3 separate regions of the Homo sapiens genome follow, and regions 1 and 2 are each linked to region 3. Evidence: promoter capture Hi-C in 16 types of primary human blood cells and fetal thymus (Javierre and others, 2016). All regions are on one chromosome and are shown on one strand. Each heading gives the region's core, a stretch centred on a gene start or on the middle of the fragment in contact. The rest is flanking DNA. Distances are from core to core; before and after follow the strand shown. Region 1 overlaps RAD50 (RAD50 double strand break repair protein). Region 2 overlaps RAD50 (RAD50 double strand break repair protein). Region 3 holds the start of SOWAHA (sosondowah ankyrin repeat domain family member A).

The links. The method cuts DNA at HindIII sites, captures the fragments that hold promoters and counts their contacts. A CHiCAGO score of 5 or more calls a contact.
Region 1: a contact is called between a fragment that was not itself captured here and the fragment with the promoter of SOWAHA in region 3, in 1 of 17 cell types (megakaryocytes). The highest score is 5.1, in megakaryocytes.
Region 2: a fragment that was not itself captured here is called in contact with the fragment with the promoter of SOWAHA in region 3 in 2 of 17 cell types (erythroblasts and endothelial precursors); the score reaches 7.4 in erythroblasts.

What each region holds. Positions count from the first base shown.
Region 1 is chr5:132,582,264-132,586,507 of GRCh38, forward strand. All of the region lies in intron 5 of RAD50 (RAD50 double strand break repair protein), which reads left to right. Among named protein-coding and RNA genes, the nearest start is that of RAD50, 27 kb to the left of the region's middle. The HindIII fragment of the contact is 3,884 bases long and covers 511-4,244 here.
Region 2 is chr5:132,567,050-132,571,353 of GRCh38, forward strand. The region is part of intron 2 of RAD50 (RAD50 double strand break repair protein); the gene reads left to right. Among named protein-coding and RNA genes, the nearest start is that of RAD50, 12 kb to the left of the region's middle. The HindIII fragment of the contact is 4,429 bases long and covers 1-3,831 here.
Region 3 is chr5:132,811,594-132,815,977 of GRCh38, forward strand. It overlaps SOWAHA (sosondowah ankyrin repeat domain family member A), which reads left to right and starts at 1,709. Exons shown (of 1, transcript NM_175873.6): 1 at 1,709-4,384. The coding sequence starts at 2,029. The coding sequence ends at 3,678. RefSeq lists a silencer at 2,744-2,813 and enhancers at 2,853-3,353, 3,354-3,854. The HindIII fragment of the contact is 6,134 bases long and covers 1-4,384 here.

The sequences.
Region 1 (4,244 bases), core at 1,203-3,702, 230 kb before region 3:
ATTTATTTACTTGTTTGTGTTTAATTGTGAGTAATTCTCCAAGGGTTTAATATTCTTCTCTGTATCCTCAGAGCCTAGCCTAGTGCCTGGCACATAGCAGGTGGTTCAATAAATGTTTATTAAGTAGATGACTTCCAAAGTCCTTTTTTTTAGCTCTGACATGTGAAGATTCTTCCCTTCATAGAACCCAATTAAAGTTTGGGTCAAATCACCTTCCCAGAAAAGACTACGTCCTTTCAACCATGCACTAGAATGCATCCTTTCCCATTTTTACTGATTCCCTTTATCTTCGGGAACTCTCACTCTCTCATAAACTACTTTATTACCATCCCACCATATCCTGTCCTCTTTTTTTGGCCTACTTAGATCTGTTTTCCTTTCTTGCCTTAAATGGGAATTGCTAGAGGAATATGTTTCTAACTTTTTTTTTCTGCACACAAGTTCATGGTCCTTCTATACTTGATAGCCCAGCTGCTCTATTTTTTTTATCTCATTTCACACTGGCACCTAAGCTTTAAACCCTTGGCTGTTTTTGTTATTGTTGTCTGCCTGCTTGTCCTAGCTCCTTTTACTAGGTGTGTACTCTGGGGATAGAACCTATGTTTTGTGCTCTGAGATTAGAACCAAAACACAGATGTCAAAGAAGGAATTCAGGGGATCTGGTGACTGGCTGGATTTAAGGAATGAAGCAGGTAGAGATGTCATGAAAGATCCAAGCCCAGATGATTATCATAATGTTTGTGCTACCAAGAGGCAGTGAAAACACTGATGGAAAGAAACTGAGCACTTTGTAGAGTATCATAGTAGAGCTGTTAGTATTCATTGCTCTTAAGTATCCATCCAGTTATATTTGTTAGACTCTACTCAAAAGGTATTTTCTGAGTACAGAATTTTTTTCACAAGTGGTGCAAATGGTCTCATTAATTGAATGTTTACTGCCTAACACTAACCCGAGTGCTTTAAAATGTATAATGTAAACTCCATAGTAACTGTGAGGTTGTATAGGCAGGAAAACTGAGGTACAGGTATTCACAGTGGAAATAAGGGTTAAAGGTAGGATTTGAGTCCTCTGATTCCTAAGTTTATACCTTTTTTTCTTTTTAAGTCAAGTTTATTAAGGTATAATATATATATGGTAAAATCCACCCTTTTTAGAGTATAAATTCTATGAGTTAGGACATATGCATACAGTAGCATAACCATCACTAAAATGAAGATGTAGAATATTTCAGTCACTCCAAAAAGTTCTCTCAAAGTCCTTGCAGTCAGTCCTCTCCCCTGCTCCCATCCATAGTAACCACTAATTTGTTTTCTGTCATTATAGTTTTGCCTTTTCCAGAGAGTGGCACATATATAGAATCATACAGTATGCAGACTTTTGTGTCTGGGATTTATCTATGTTGCTGCATGTGTGAGTAATTCATTCCTTTTTTTTTTTTTTTTTTTTGAGACGGAGTTTCACTCTTATTGCCCAGGCTGGAGTGCAATGGCATGATCTCGGCTCACTGCAACCTCCGTCTCCCAGGTTCAAGCAATTCTCCTACCTCAGCCTCCCAAGTAGCTGGGATTACAGGCATGTGCCACCATACCCAGCTAATTTTTTTTGTATTTTTAGTAGAGACGGGGTTTCTCCATGTTGGTCAGGCTGGTCTCGAACTCCCAACCTCAGATGATCTGCCCACCTCGGCCTCCCAAAGTGCTGGGATTACAGGTGTGAGCCACTGTGCCCGGCAATTCATTCCTTTTTATTGTGGAGGAGCATTCCTTCCATTGTATGCATGTATTATAATTTTTTTCCTCATCCATTCTGTGGCTGATGGACATTAAGTTGTTTTTGGTTGAACTAGTTTACAGTCCCTCCAACAGTGTAAAAGTGTTCCTCTTTCTCCACATCCTCTCCAGCACCTGTTGTTTCCTGATTTTTATTGATCGCCATTCTAACTGGTGTGAGATGATATCTCATTGTGGTTTTGATTTGCATTTCTCTGATGGCCAGTGATGATGAGCATTTTTTCATGTGTCTGTTGTCTGCATAAATCTCTTCTTTTGAGAAGTGTCTGTTCATATCCTTCACCCACTTTTTGATGGGGTTGTTTGTTTTTTTCTTGTAAATTTGTTTGAGTTCTTTGTAGATTCTGGATATTAGCCCTTTGTCAGATGAGTTGATTGCAAAAATGTTCTCCCATTCTGTAGGTTGCTTGTTCACTCTGATGGTAGTTTCTTTTGCTGTGCAGAAGCTCTTTAGTTTAATTAGAACCCATTTGTCAGTGTGGCGATTCCTCAAGGATCTAGAAATAGAAATACCATTTGACCCAGCCATCCCATTACTGGGTATATACCCAAAGGATTATAAATCATGCTGCTATAAAGACACATGCACATGTATGTTTATTGCAGCACTACTCACAATAGCAAAGACTTAGAACCAACCCAAATGTCCAATGATGATAGACTGGATTAAGAAAATATGGCACATATACACCATGGAATACTATGCAGCCATAAAAAATGATGAGTTCATGTCCTTTGTAGGGACATGGATGAAGCTGGAAACCATCATTCTCAGCAAACTACCGCAAGAACAAAAAACCAAACACCGCATGTTCTCACTCATAGGTGGGAATTGAACAATGAGAACACTTGGACAGACACAGGAAGGGGAACATCACACACTGGGTCCTGTTGTGGGGTGGGGGGAGGGAGGAGGGATAGCATTAGGAGATACACCTAATGTAAATGACGAGTTAATGGGTGCAGCACACCAACATGGCACATGTATACATATGTAACAAACCTGCATGTTGTGCACATGTACCCTCGAACTTAAAGTATAATAAAAAGAAATAAGTTGTTTTCGGCTTTGGGTTGTTACAGATAAAACTGCTATAAACTTCTGTATACAGGTCTTTGGATAACTTTAGGACTCGGGTTGCTAGGTCGTGTGGTAAATATATGTTTAACCTTATAAGTTACCAGATGGCTGTACCATCTGGTACCACTTCATAGTCCTACCAACAATATACCAACAATTTATGGGAATGTAATTGCTCTGCATTCTCATCCCCACTTAGTACTGTCAGTCTTTTTCATTTTAGCCATAACAGTAGGGGTGTGGTAGTGTCTCATTGTGACATTGTGAGGTTGTATTTCTTTATATTTTTAATTTGTGTTTTCCTAGTTGATCAGTCAATTGATTATTGATTTTGAGCATCTTTTCATGTATTTATTTGCCACCTGAATATCTTCGTTAGTAAAATATAAAAGTCTTTTGCCTATTTTTCAATGTTATTTATTTATTGGTCATTTTATTATTGAGCTGTGAGAGTTCTTTTTTTTTTTTTTTTTTTTCTTGTTTTTTGAGACAGGGTCTCGCTGTCTTACCCAGGCCAGAGTGCAGTGGTGTGATCTTGGCTCACTGCAACCTCTGACTCCCAGGCTCAAGTGATCCTTCCACCTCAGTCTCCCACGTAGCTGGGACTACAGGCACACACTCACCACACCGGTGAGACTTGTAGAGGCAAGGTCTCACCAGGTTACCCAGGCTGGTCTCAAACTTCTGGGCTCAAGCAATCAGCCTGCCTCAGTCTCCCAAAGTGCTGGGATTACAGGTGTGAGCTACAGTGCCAGGCAGAGAGTTCTAAATATGTTCTGGATACAAGCCCTTTATCAGATATTGGTTTTGCAGATATTTCTTAACTGCTTTTCAGAGGACAGGAGTTTTAAATTTTGATCAGGTACAGTTTATAAACTTTTTTCTCTTATGGTTTATACTTTTTGTTTATTATTTAGGAAGTCTTTGACCCAGTGTCACAAAAATATTCTTCAGTGTTTTCCTCTAAAAGTTTTATAGTTTGAGTTCTTACAATTAAGTATATGCTTCATTTCAGAATCTTAATATGATATGAGGTAAAAGTTGAGGTTTACTTTCTTACATACAAATGTCCACTTCTTCTAGCACCCAGAGCCTAGTCATTATGATACCCTGCCTTCTAATCTTATTGTTATCTTGTCTCCCAATCTTAACTATACAATTTTGTACAAGTCAGTTAAGTCCTTTGAATTTCCTGCTTAGTATATACTTTTGTGAGGATTAGAGAGAATTTATAGCAGCACCTAGTACAGTGTCTGGAACATAGCAGACATTCAATCAGTGATACCTGTGACTGTTGCTCTTGGTAAAATTATTTTTTTCAAATCTCTCTTTCGTTTAGCTAACATTGAACACCTATTGCATGTTCTGGGGA
Region 2 (4,304 bases), core at 367-2,866, 240 kb before region 3:
AGTTTGAACCAAAACAACACATGAAACCTACAAAGTGCCTGTAAATATTTGTTGAATGATTAATTGAATTAGTATCAAAGTTAAATTCATGCCAAGAAGTCATTAAAAAGTCAGCAAAGGATCTTTAATGATTTTTTTTTTTTAAAGCAGAATCCAGTACTTGTGATTTGGGTTGCAACAAAATAATGAGTATCACACTTATACTCGCAAGATGAATAACTGTAACACTGGAAAAGTATGTGAAACAACTATTTTCAGGCATTGGACCACAGATAATGCAGGGCTATATTCTTTGAGAAAGGAGAAACATAAAAGGTGATTCTGCATTCATTCCAGCTTTCTACCTGGGAACACTTTGTAAACTTTGGCACATGGAATTGGAATCCAGTAGAGAGCTGGGCAGAATTGGGCATCACTAGGCAGATGAAACAAAGATAGGATTTTGGATTTGCTAAAGTGACTGGAAATTGTAGAGCAGAGTACTGAAGTAGGGTTGTTGTGCAGAGATGGTGTACCAGAAATCTGCATAAGGATCTTTTGAGTCTTTGGCCAAATACTAAGCTATCCATGTATAGGATGAGATTTAATGAGGGCTAGTAGAGAACAACTACCAAGGTGGCAAGTGGGGCTGTGAGTGTTGTATTCTAAAGGTCACACAATGCTGTGAGACATTTGAGTCCTGATGTGCCAGAATGGAGTGACCTTGTGGAACTCTCCAGTGTTCACTTGAGACCTCAGAAAGGCCCACCTAACAAATACTGAAACCAGGTTTTGATAGAATCAAGCTGAGTTGCCAGTAAATTAACTGGCTGCTAGAACAAAACTCAAGACTTTTTAAAGGAAGCCTACTCAGTCGAAGCTCTCAATGTGGCATCTACAATGTGCAGAATATAATTTTAAAAATTAATGGGAATATGCAAAAGAAAATGTGGTCTATACCTGAGAAGGGAAAAGTGAGTAGAAGCAGATCCAGAGATGACAGATTTTGGAATTAGCAGACAAGGATTTTTTTTTAAATTTTTTTTAAATTTTTTTTTTTGAGATGGAGTCTCACTCTGTTTCCCAGGCTGGAGTGCAGTGGCACAATCTCGGCTCACTGCAACCTGTGCCTCCCAGGTTCAGGCAATTTTCCTGCCTCAGCCTCCCGAGTAGCTGGAACTACAGGTGCCCACGACCATGCCCGGCTGATTTTTTATTTTTTTATTTTTTATTTTTAGTAGAGACGGGGTTTCACCATATTAGCCAACCTGGTCTCGAACTCATGACCTTGTGATCCGCCTGCCTCGGCCTCCCAAAGTGCTGGGATTGCAGGCATGAGCCACGACGCCCGACCGGATTTTTTTAAAGCTATGATAGATAAGCTCAAGGACTTAAAGGAAAAGATGGACATAATGTGTGGGAAGACATCTAAACAGAGTAATAAAAACTATAAAAAAAGACCCAAGAAGCTGAATGCATCACAAGCAGCATAAACATAACTATGTTGTACATTACATTCAAATTGTTCAAAACTAAATATAAAATCTTAAAAACAGGTGGAGGAAAAAGTAACACATCATGCAGAGGGAAAGAATAATGAGTATGATTACTTCTTAGGAAAAGCAATCTAAACCTGAAAACAGTGGGACAGCACCTTTAAGGTGCTAGGGAATAAAAGTTAAACTCCTATATCCAGCAAAAATATTCTTTGAAAATTGGAGGTGAAATGGAGGACATTTTCAGATTTAAAACAAAATGGTAGAGGTAATTTGTTACAGACAGGCTTGCACTATAGTAATTGTTAAAGAAAGTTTTTGAGGCTGAAGGAAAATGTCGAAAATGATTGTAAATTAGTCCTAGAGTAAAAGCTGCTCTAGGTCCCCCTTTACAGACCTTAACAACAAAGGTTCAAAAGAATCCAACTGTTTGTTGCTCAAAAAACTTAACTGCATGCCAGAACAAAGTTCAGTACTCATTAAAGGAATAAAACAAAATCTTTCACCCAACAATACAAAATTCACAATCAAAAGTTAACAGGCATCCAAAGAAGCAGGGAAATAGGACCCATAATCAGAGAAAAATCAATCATATGAACAGATCCAAAATGAAAGAAATAATAGAATTAGTAGATAAGAACCCTAAAACCTTATTATAACTCTTATAAATATGCTCATAGATATAAAGGAAAACATAAGCATAATGAGAAAAATGGAAAATAATTTTAAAAACCCAAATAAACGGAATAATGGTGTTTTGTATATAATGGTACAAATAGGTTAAAAGCAAAAGGATTGAAAAAATATACTGTGCCAGCTAATGAAAAGAAAGCTGAAGTGACCATATTAATACCAGACAGAAGACATCAGAACTAGGGAAAATGAAACATTTTATGATGAGAAGAGGTCAATTTAATGCAAGGACACAAAAATTCTAAATGTAAAACTTCCAAATATATGAGGCAGAAACCTATGGAACAGAATGGAGAAATACACAAATCTGCAAGGTCAATTGGAGATCTCAATACCCCTCTCAGTAGAGAAAAGAAGCAGATGAAATATCAGTAAGTATATGGAAAATTTTAACAACACTGTTAACCAAATCAACCTGATTGACATTTATAGGACATTCCATTGAACGATAGCAGAATACACTTTATTTTCAAGTGCATGTGGAACATTCTGTAAGATAGACCAACATTCTGGACTGTAAAACAAGTGTCAATAAATTTATAAGGAGTAAAGTCATAGATAATGTATTCTGTGACTACACCAGAATCAGTAGCAGAAAAGTATCCGGAAAATCCCCAAATAATTGAAAAATTAAGCAGCATACTTCTAAATATTACATGGATCAAAAAAGGAATCACAAGGGAAATTAGAAAAAATACTTTAAATGAATCAAAAATATAGCATGTAAAAATATGTGGGGTGCAGCTAGATAATGCTTAGAGAGATACGGTAGAAAAGAAACCAATCAGTATAATTTGCCACATTAACAGAATAAAAAAGAAATATCATATGAACACCAATAGATACAGAAAACGCATTTCAATTTAATAGTCTTTCGTGGTAAAAACCCTCAGCATAACTGATGGAGGAATATTAATTCCTGAATAATTCAGTCCAAAATCCGTTAGGTGTGGCTGAGTGAGGAAGGCATCCACAAAAACAAGCTGTGACAGCCTGGTGGGGGATTGGAGCCCAAGTAAGGAATCTATGAGTTTATACTGATACAAGAAAATGGGGGGGGAAATGGAGAAAGAGCAAAGCCCCTTATACTAGAACCTTAACTAATATAAAAGGAATAATGGAACTAGAAAATTACTATAGGCATACCTTAGATATTGCAGGTTAAGTTCTAATGGATGGCGGTCTTGTCTACATTGAAAATCTGTTGTTTAGTGTAGCTACCTTCATCAATTACCTGAGCTAGATCTTCTGGATAACTTGCTGCAGCTCCTGCATCAGCACTTGCTGCTTCACCTCGCACTTTTATGTTGTGGAGACAGCTTCTTTCTTTAAGCCTCATGAACCAACCATTGCTAGCTTCCAACTTTTCTTTGCAGCTTCTTTACTTCTCTCAGCCTTCATAGAATTGCAGAGAGTTGGGGCTTTGCTCTGGATTAGGTTTTGGCCTGAGGGAATGTTGTGGCTGGTTTAATCTATCCCAACTACTAAAACTTTCTCCATATCAGCAGTAAGGCTGTTTCACTTTCTTATCATTTGTGTGTTCACTAAAGTAGCACTTTTAATTTTATTCAAGAACTTTTCCTTTGCCCTCACAACTCAGCTAACTGATGAAAGAGGCCTAACTTTCAACCTGTTTTGGATTTTGACATGCTTTTCTCAACTAAGCTTAATCATTTCTAGTTTTTGATTTAAAACGAGATGTTTGACTCTTCTTTCGCTTAAACACTTAGGGGCTGTTGTAGGGTTACTAATTGGCCTAATTTCCATATTATTGTGTCTCAGGCAATCAGGTTCCAAGGAGAGGGAGAGAGACGGGAATGGCAGGTCAGTAAAGCAGTCAGGACACACACGTTAATGGATTAAGTTCACCTCTTATATGTGGATGGTTTGTGGCACACAAACAATTACAGTAGTAACATCAAAGATCACTTATCACAGATCACTATAACAGATACAATAATAATGAAAAAGTTTGAAATATTGTGAGAATTACCAAAATGTGACACAGAGACACAAAGTGAGCACATGCTGTTGGAAAAATGGCACCGATAGACTTGTTAGATGCAGGGTTGCCACAAACCTCTGAAGAGCACAATAAGATGGGGTATGCCTGTATTTGATAGCTGTCATAATAAT
Region 3 (4,384 bases), core at 459-2,958:
AATATAAAGTGAGGGGGAAATGTTTAAATTGTTTGCATCTTGGGGACAGGGCTGAACTCAGAAATTGCCCCTGGGGATTGGATTGGGGAAAGGGGACCCTTTACATTTTAGTCTTCTGTTTTCCTTTTGAGTAATACTAATAGTAGTGACTATACTACTAATAATAATTCAAATGATTACTGTAAGCCAAGCATTATGCTAAGTCTTTTGTGTTTATTTTCTCACTTAATTCTCTCAACCATCTGAGCAGGTAAGTACTATTTTCCTCATTCCTTTACAGACAAGAAAGCTGAGGCACAGAGAAGTCAAGGCATTTGCCCAAGGTAGAGCCAGAACTCAAGTGTAGAATGTTGACTCCAGAGTCTTGTTTTCTCAGCTACTACAATATGCTGCTTCTGGTTAGATATATTTGTAGTACTGCAATTATTTATTTATTTATGAGACAGGGCTTGCTCTTGTCATCCAGGCTGGAGTGCAGTGGCGCCATCTCAGCTCACTGCAACCTCCACCTCCCGGGTTCAAGCGATTCACCTGCCTCAGCCTCCGGAGTAGCTGGGATTACAGGTGCGTGCCATCACACCCAGCTAATTTTTGTATTTTTAAGTAGAGATGGATTTCACCATGATGGCCAGGCTGGTCTCGAACTCCTGACCTCAGATCATCCGCCCAAGTCAGCCTCCCAAAGTGCTGGGATTAGAGGCGTGAGCCATCGCGCCCGGCCTGCATTTTAAATTAAGGAACTGATTCTACCTCTGCCAGGCAGTTCCCTCAACTAGAAACCTCTTCCCCGTCTACATAACTCCCTGATCTCCTTCAAGTCCTTGTTTAAATGTCACTTTCACAACGAGTACTATCCTGACTGCCCAGATCAAAATTGCAACCTGACCCTCATCCGTTATACCCCGCTGTGCTTTTTTCATAGCATGTATTTAGTATATCATATAGTTTTCGGATTCACCATATGCTTCTGTTCTCCTCCAACACATGAGCCCCACTAGGTCACGGGTTTTTAAATCTGTCTTGCTAACTGACGCATCTTAGCCAAAAAAAAAAAAAAAAAAGTCCTGGCACAAACTACGTGCTCAATACCTATCTGTGGAACAAACGAAGGTTTAAAACCATGGCATGACTCCGCATTGCTTTCTTACTTTAAAGCATAAACATACATACACACATGGGAGACAGGGAGAGGATATTTCAAAATGTTAATGGTGATTTCAAGTGATTTTTTTTCCTTCTTTATGTTTTCCTCTATGTTTTCCTGTTATGTTTATGTTTCCTGTGGTTTTATACCCCAAATTCTACGTGAAAATGTATTCTCTTACCATGAGAAAATTGCTTTTGAAAACGTCTCTCTAAACCTAGAGTAACGTGCATTGCCGCGCAGAGTGAATTGGTTTTGCTGTAAATCTCATGAAGCCGTTTTCCTGCATGAAACACAGTAAAAAAAAAAAAAAACTGGAGTGGTATTGACGACCTTTAAAAAAAAAAGATTGTTCTGAAATCATCGCTTGGTGTTTTGCAGTGGTTAAATGTTTATTAAAGGAATAAAAATCCATTCCTCCTTGGCGGACCGCGGCGTCCCTAGGGAACACACCCACCTAGCAACCGAGACCAGAGCTGGAGCGCTGCGCCTTTAATTCTGGGGCGGGCGGGGGGCGGCGGGAATTTCTGCTCCGGTTCCCTCTGCATCGCGGGGGCAGCTGTCACCTGTAAGGCGAGCGCGGCGCGGGGGATGGAAGCAGGCGCCCATTGGACAGAATACAAAGGCAGAAACCTACCCCGAAGGCCGGGGCCCGGCGGGGCGCTGGGGGTGGGCGCTCCCCGCGGCCCCCGGCGCCCTTCGCCCCGAGACGCCCCGGCCCAGCGGCACTGGCGCGACCGAGGTCCAGCTTCGGGGACACGCCCGGCTGGCCGCGGGGAAGGCACCAGGTGAGCGCGGCCGCGCCTCCCGGAACCCCGCTCCCGCGCGTCCCGCGGCGACGCGGCGCCCACCCGCCCCGGGAGCCAGGAACCCAGGGCCCCACCATGGCGCTGGCCGCCGCCGCCGCCGCTGCGGCTGCCGGGGTGAGCCAGGCGGCGGTGCTGGGCTTCCTGCAGGAGCACGGCGGGAAGGTGCGCAACTCCGAGCTGCTGAGCCGCTTCAAGCCGCTGCTCGATGCCGGCGACCCGCGGGGCCGCGCCGCCCGCAGGGACCGCTTCAAGCAGTTCGTCAACAACGTGGCGGTGGTGAAGGAGCTCGACGGCGTCAAGTTCGTGGTGCTGAGGAAGAAGCCCCGGCCCCCGGAGCCCGAGCCCGCACCCTTCGGCCCCCCGGGGGCAGCGGCCCAGCCGTCGAAACCCACTTCGACGGTCTTGCCGCGGAGCGCCTCTGCCCCGGGAGCTCCGCCCTTGGTCCGGGTGCCGCGGCCAGTGGAGCCGCCAGGGGACCTGGGTCTGCCAACAGAGCCACAGGACACCCCGGGGGGGCCGGCCTCCGAGCCCGCTCAGCCGCCCGGGGAGCGGTCCGCCGACCCACCGCTTCCAGCCCTTGAGCTAGCCCAGGCCACCGAGAGACCCTCCGCAGACGCGGCCCCACCGCCTAGGGCCCCTTCTGAGGCGGCATCGCCCTGCTCTGATCCGCCAGACGCGGAGCCCGGGCCCGGGGCAGCGAAAGGGCCGCCGCAGCAGAAGCCCTGTATGCTGCCGGTGCGCTGCGTCCCGGCCCCCGCCACGCTCCGCCTCCGGGCGGAGGAGCCCGGCCTGCGCCGGCAGCTGTCGGAGGAGCCGAGCCCGCGGAGCTCCCCTCTGCTGCTGAGGCGGCTCTCGGTGGAAGAGTCCGGTCTGGGCCTCGGCCTGGGCCCGGGCCGCTCCCCGCACCTGAGGCGCCTGTCGCGCGCCGGCCCGCGTCTGCTGAGCCCTGACGCCGAGGAGTTGCCCGCCGCGCCGCCGCCGTCCGCGGTGCCCCTGGAGCCGTCCGAGCACGAGTGGCTCGTGCGGACTGCCGGGGGCCGCTGGACCCACCAGCTGCACGGGCTGCTGCTGCGCGACCGCGGCTTGGCGGCCAAGCGCGACTTCATGTCTGGCTTCACGGCCCTGCATTGGGCCGCCAAGAGCGGCGACGGCGAGATGGCGCTGCAGCTGGTGGAGGTCGCGCGGCGCAGTGGCGCACCAGTCGACGTGAACGCACGCTCCCACGGCGGCTACACGCCGCTGCACCTGGCTGCACTGCACGGCCACGAGGACGCTGCCGTGCTGCTGGTGGTGCGTCTGGGTGCCCAGGTGCACGTGCGTGATCACAGCGGGCGTCGCGCCTACCAGTACCTGCGGCCCGGCTCCTCGTACGCGCTGCGCCGCCTTCTTGGCGATCCAGGCCTGCGAGGCACCACGGAGCCAGATGCGACCGGTGGTGGAAGTGGCAGTCTTGCTGCCAGGCGCCCCGTACAGGTGGCCGCCACCATCCTCAGTTCCACCACCAGTGCATTTCTGGGCGTCCTGGCTGACGACCTCATGCTCCAGGACCTGGCCCGAGGCTTGAAGAAGTCGAGCTCCTTCAGCAAGTTCTTGAGCGCCTCGCCCATGGCTCCACGTAAAAAGACAAAGATCCGCGGTGGTCTGCCAGCCTTCTCAGAAATCTCTCGTCGACCTACTCCGGGGCCTTTAGCTGGTCTAGTGCCCAGTTTGCCTCCAACAACCTGAAGGTCCCTGGGGCTACCACCTGGTTGATCTATCGTGGCCTGCTCGTCGCAGTCCAAACCCGCCCAAGACTGCAGCCCAATCAACGCCTGGAGCCTCATTCTGTTTCCAGCTTTGTCCAGGGCAGCCTGTTTTACCCAGATGGGCCTGCACCTCCAGCTTCTTTCTGAAGCATGACCCATCTCCAGAGATGGGATTTGAGAAATCAGTGAGAGCTTCCTATAAAGAACTCCAGGAGACAGGCCTGAACTCTAGAGGGAACTTGAAATCCAGGGTCAAAGGTTAAGGGGCAGCAGCTGGTCTGGCCCCTGAAAGCCTTCACCTGATGCCTCTGCAGCTACACAATCCCAAGACAGAGCTAGAGCAAGGGTCTCTTTAAATGTTGAAAGATGTTAGGTTGTCAGCTTTAAGATATGTGGTGGTTTTGTAATTTGATGCTTTTATTCTGTTTTTAAATTGAAATGAGGTAATGCAACTTTCGTAATAACCTTTTGGAATTATATTTTTCCACTTTTAGGCAAAGTGCTTAGACATTTTCAATTTTTTTTTTGCTAAATACTTTGGAATTCTATTTAAAAAATAGATGATCAAGATCTAAAGGAAATTAATCCCAACCAACAAACTTAAAAGTTTATCTACCTCGTTTTAGGCAATCAAGATTCTGGAGAGTCTTGAACACAGAATAACGATTGTGACCATTATGAATGTA